Regions from separate parts of the Homo sapiens genome. Here region 1 is linked to region 2. The links are contacts of gene promoters, found by promoter capture Hi-C in blood cells and fetal thymus (Javierre and others, 2016). All regions are on one chromosome and are shown on one strand. The core of a region is centred on a gene start or on the middle of the fragment in contact, and the rest is flanking DNA. Distances in the headings are between cores, read along the strand shown. Region 1 overlaps IL1RL2 (interleukin 1 receptor like 2). Region 2 holds the start of IL1RL2 (interleukin 1 receptor like 2).

The links. Contacts are between HindIII fragments. The CHiCAGO score rates a contact against its expected background, and 5 or more counts as called.
Region 1: a fragment that was not itself captured here is called in contact with the fragment with the promoter of IL1RL2 in region 2 in 1 of 17 cell types (M2 macrophages); the score reaches 5.4 in M2 macrophages.

Annotation. Positions count from the first base shown.
Region 1 is chr2:102,237,193-102,239,892 of GRCh38, reverse strand. IL1RL2 (interleukin 1 receptor like 2) reads right to left here. Exons shown (of 12, transcript NM_003854.4): 12 at 1-701. The coding sequence ends at 652. Among named protein-coding and RNA genes, the nearest start is that of IL1RL2, 52 kb to the right of the region's middle. RefSeq lists an enhancer at 979-2,178. The HindIII fragment of the contact is 3,382 bases long and covers 1-2,700 here.
Region 2 is chr2:102,185,671-102,188,370 of GRCh38, reverse strand. IL1RL2 (interleukin 1 receptor like 2) reads right to left here and starts at 1,348. Exons shown (of 12, transcript NM_003854.4): 1 at 1,285-1,348; 2 at 446-515. The coding sequence starts at 503. RefSeq lists an enhancer at 1,163-1,692. The HindIII fragment of the contact is 3,870 bases long and covers 1-1,980 here.

The DNA of each region.
Region 1 (2,700 bases), core at 52-2,551, 52 kb before region 2:
CAAGCACAGGCTTCCATGTGGGCTCAGCCCACCATGACATGGGGATGAATCCCAACTCTCACCCACCATGACAGGTGATCCCCCCAGCTCTCACCCACCATGACAGGTGATCCCCCAAGATCTCACCCACCATGACATGGTGATTCCCCCAGCTCTCATCCACCATGACGTGGGGATACCCCCCAGATCTCGCCCACCATGACATGGGGATGCTCCCAGCTCTCACCCACCATGATGTAGGGATACCCCCAGCTCTCACCCACTATGACCATGTGGATGACCACCCGCCCTCACCCACCATGACACAGGGATACCCCCAGATCTCACCCACCATGACATGGGGATGCTCCGAGCTCTCACCCACCATGACTTGGGGATGCCTCCCCCGACCAGCCCTCACCCTCCATGACCATGGGGATAACCCCCAGCTCTCACCCTCCATGACCACGGGGATGGCCCCAGCTCTCACCCACCATGACATGGGGATGGCCCCAGTTCTTATCCCATCCTCCTCTTCTCTACGCCTGAGCTCAACTGGGTGTCTAGAATGCTAACCCTAGCCTCATCCTGCAGCAGAAAATAGGTGTAGGAATGAGGAGACATGGAGCAAAACAAGTCATCTTCCAGCCATAGGTGTCAGTCCAGCAAGTCTTAGCCAGTCGTGAGAGTACACTTCTTTCTTCTTGAGCCTAGTTCTGGGCCTGAAATCAGGAAAGATCTATTTACTCCTTTTCTGATGTGGTGGGAGATGGGGGCTGATAAGGAAACCTGCCATGGGAATGCGAAAACCTCCACCTTGCCGTCAGTTCATCTGGTGGTATATCCCTGAGGCTTCCATTTCTCTTGGGTTATCTTTGCAAGGTGGTTATGCCAGAGGATCACAGGTGAGCAGTGTCAACTCTCACCTTTCCTATAAGAGCCCCAGAGGAAAGGTGAATTTGGATGACAAGAGCCAGGGCTCTGAGGTCCTTCTCAAGTGGAGAGCTCCTCTCCAGGGACAGCCTGGGAGATGAGGGTGGAATTGTATTAGTGAACAGCAGCATTTCTCAGAAGTTCCTGGGTGTATGGGAGGGGACATCCACACACAGAGTTCCCATCTCCCAGAATAATATTACTACTGGAGATGTGTGGCCTCTAACATTCAGACCCAGCAGCCACCACTCCTAAAGCCAGCATCACCCTCTGTAGCTCACTCCAGACCTCATCTGGAACAGCCTCTGTTCTTCAAGGAAACCAGGAAGGAATTTTCCACTTTACACAGCCCCAGATCAATACCAAACAAGCATGTGTTAGAGGGAAGTTTATAAATAAAAAACAGGACCAAGTGCCGAGGAAAGGTCAACCAACCATGACGTGGCAGGAAGTGGTCTGCGTCACTATGGGGTGCTGATGGGTGTGGGGGGCCCTGGGGACTGAGGCTCCCTGAGCACATTCCATATTTTGGCAGGCCAGCTCCTCATGGCATCCCACGGTTTGCCAAGCACTTTTCACATGTATATCTTCATCTTGCTTGGTCCTCCGGGGAAAGACCACACCTTCCCGGTCCCTTTATTTAATGTGACTGGGTCTTTCCCAGGGCCTCTCTCATGAGCCGACTCAGGGTATTTGAGGGGAGATACCAAAGGTAGTGGGTTTTGTGGCTGACTCAGTCATTATGGGAAGGTGAATGTAAAGGTAACCCAGCGACTCAGCACCTGTATTTCACCTCTCTGGTCCAATCTCCGCTCGCAGCCCTACCTCCAGGTCAGTCCCTGGGGATTCCCAGGGGGGTCTCTAATTCCCTCAAGCCAGGGTCTTGGAAAGGAGTGATGAGGGTTTACAGCTAATTCATAGTATTAAAAAACTTTGTGAATCATTAAATTATAAATTGGCCTGTGATGAAGGCACACTGGCTCCTTGGAAACTGACTTCACTTTGCTTGGAGTAGAATTCTGGAGCCCACCCCCAAGGGCTAGGGATAGGACCCCATTGACCTCATATTTGCGCCAAGCCCAGCTGGAGAAACGGGAGAGAATTGAGGGTGGCCTTCAGCGTTCCCATAAACTACCTTTTTGTCCCTTAGCCGTTGAACTCTTAAACCTCCTTTCTTATACAAATTTGGACTTGAGACCATGAGCGGAGCTGTTACCTGCCAACCTGCCTACATGTCAGCGGTGATGCCAGGCTACTTCAATTATTTGTATTCTTGCTGCATTGCATCCCTATTATTTCATTAGGAATTAGTAGAACTTTAAAAAGTTTCTTTGCATCTCGATTTCTCTCTCCAACATGAGAGTCGTTATTCCTCATGGAGGATTCGCTAGTTTAATTAAAACAGGCTGTTTCTCCTATTGCACCCAAGAGGAAAATGGGCATTACTGATCTGTTCCGCACTCTGTCCCCTCACTCGCTGCCGTTCTCTTCTCTGGGCTGGTCTCTGAAGGCTGCCTGCAGTGCTGGAGTGGGCAGGGTGGCTGCGGGCTGGCTGAGGACGCTTCGTCCTTCCTTCTGCGGAGTGCATGTGAGACCAGGCCACGCCAGGAAACCCCCTGAGGGCAGTGGGCACCACCTCTGGCCACTTGACTAACCCCGGGGCAGTAAGATCTGGACCGCAAAGGGTGAGTGGTCACTGGCTCGTGGTTTGGTGAGGATTTGGGGAATACACCCACCCCATTCAGATTTGAGGGCATCTCAGCACCCTTCCCCCTTCCTTCCCAGCCA
Region 2 (2,700 bases), core at 99-2,598:
CCTCGTGATCCGCCCGCCTTGGCCTCCCAAAGTACTGGGATTACAGGCATGAGCCACTGCGCCCGGCCATACCAAATTTCTTAGAAGAAATTTGTTCTATTGACGGTTTCCTTGCTTTCACCTTGTGTCATAAAATAACGCTTTATCTTATAAAATAGCCTGTAGTAATTCCATTTGAGCATTGTTACTCAAGTCTTCACTTGGAATTTGCCTAACTCCTTCCCCTCCCCGAAGTCACCTCCAAGCTCAAAGGCGACATTCAGGGCTGAGCATCCGAGCACGTGGAGCTGGTTCTCTGTTTCCTCTTCCGCGGAACTCCGCCTGGCGGTCTGGGGAGGGGAAGGAGCCGCGCTCGGGCTGACGCGATCCCCGGGGGCTCCCAATGACAGGCCAGGAGCCTGTGGACTCGGGCAGCCTCTGGGAACGGAGGACACACGGAACGTACCTGCTGTGACAGACAGTGGAAGGGCGATGGACAACCCGCAGAGCAGCAAGGACCACATCCCCAAACCGGGCTGCAAGGAAGGGAGAAGAGGGTGGGAGGGGAGGACGCAGTAGGGCGGGCCCGAGGCGCCGGCGTGGGCGACCTCGGAATCTCAAAGACAACCGCCCAGGCCGCTGACCTTCCCTTTTTCCTGGGGAGCCCTCCGACTTTGGCCCCACGTTTCCCCAAAGACTGCCCTTCCCCTGTCTCCTTCGTCTGGGCGCCCGACCAGGATCCAGGGCAGGGAGCTCGCCCCGCCGCAGAGGAGGATGGGCGAGGAGTAGGCGGCGGCGGCGGTGGGGACCGCGTGGGAGCTGCTTCTGCCACCTGACAGCGAAGCAGGCTGGTGTCCAGAGCCCCCGTGAGGGCCAGGGCGCCCCCCAGCGCAGCCTGCGGCCTGGGTTCCAGACGTGGGACCCCAACCCCGCTCGCGGCGCACGGAGCCTCCCCTGCGCGCCTGTGTCCTCGGGATCCACCCGAGCCTGGCGGTCTAAACAGAAACCCCAAACACCCGCTCACTGGGGAGCAGCCAGGGCAGGCCTACCTGGCAAGGGCCAGCGGGAAAGGAGAAAGGAAGGCAGGGAGCCGCTGGAGCTGAAAATAGCCGCGAGCTCCACTCCTCGACCCAGAGACGGAGTCGGCTCCCCCATGGTCACCTAGCCGGTCGGGGGCCGGCCTGGGGGGCCTGATCCCTGGCCTGCGGTGGCACACATTGTTGCCACGTCTTTTCCTGCACACCTCTCCTACTGTCAGGGCCCCACCCATGCCTGGCTCAGCCAGACTCCCGGCCCGGTGTCTACCTGCCTGCAGGATTGAAGCGCGCAGGACCTCGTGGAGAGTGGAAAATATGACAGGGACACGAGCCCTGTCATGCCACTTCCATGCCTAGGTATTTCCCCGCCACCGTGGGCGGGGCAGACCTGCCTTCCCCAGTGGAGCGTAGGAAGGAATGTGACATCACACTAGGAAGTGGCTTGAAAGTCTTTGAGCCTGATTTTCTGGCATCTAAGTCCTTCATCACCAGGAGTGTCTGCTTAAGTCTATTCCAAGTTGAACGTCTAAATGAATTATTCATTCCTTTCCAAATCCTATTTGAGCAGTTACTGCATGCTCTGCATTGGCCTATGTGGAATGACCCCAAAGTGGAAGCCATCCCAAATGGCTTCTAAGGAGAATTATGAATCTGCCTGAGTCGTGCTCATTAACTTCTGTAAGGCAGGAATCCCATGGTGTTCAAGTACTTCAGAGCCTGAAGACTGTTCCTGTCTAAAACTTCCCGATAAGGTGATGTCAACAGGGACCTGTTGCCCTAGCCATCAGGAGACACCCCAGAGTCATCCCACAGGGCACTGAGTTGTAGGAAAAGGTTCAAAATGTAATCTCCATTCAATAGATTACTGGTCAAGCTCTTCCCAACGGTCTTTGAAAGATCAGAGACAGTGAGACAAAAGCAACCATAGGAGCAGAGATGCAATAATTGTGCTAATAGCAAAGCTTCCTGTGATAGGCTGAAGGTCAGTGGTTTGTAGATTTCTACACTCTTAAAAAGTATTGAGGATTCCAAAGTGCTTTTGTCTATGTAGGTTATGCCTGTCAATATTACTACATTAGAAGTTAAAGGGAGAATTTTTAAACGTTTACTTTCTTATTTAAGTGACAATAAACCCATTACATGTTAACGCAAATATCATACAATTTATGAAAAATAACTCTACTTTCTAAAACAGGCTTATTGAGAAAAGCGGCATTGTTCTACATAGATGCAGATCTCTTTGATGTCTGGCTTACTAGAAGATGACTGGATTCTCATACTTGCTTCTGCAATCAGTGTCATGATATAATATGTCATATAGCTTCTGAAAAGGTCCACCATACACTAATGAGAGAATGAGAATAAAAAAGGAATATAAGGTCTTAATATTACGATGAACATAGTTTTGATTTCACAGATCTTTTTGAAGGGTCTCTCAGGGACCCATAGGGCTCCCACTCTTTGAGGACCTCTTTCTTAAGCTATAAATAGAGATTATTATTTATTTCCCCTACTATCAGCAGTAAACGAGGTTCCTCTGTATATGTATATTCTTCAGCGTTTATGTCCTCATCCAAAACAAAACAAAAGTGTTACTATTTTTATAAAAGTCATATGATTTGCATTCAGAATTATTTCTATGAGCAGTGTTGAAAGGTATTTCTAAATCTTTATGCTATCTTTT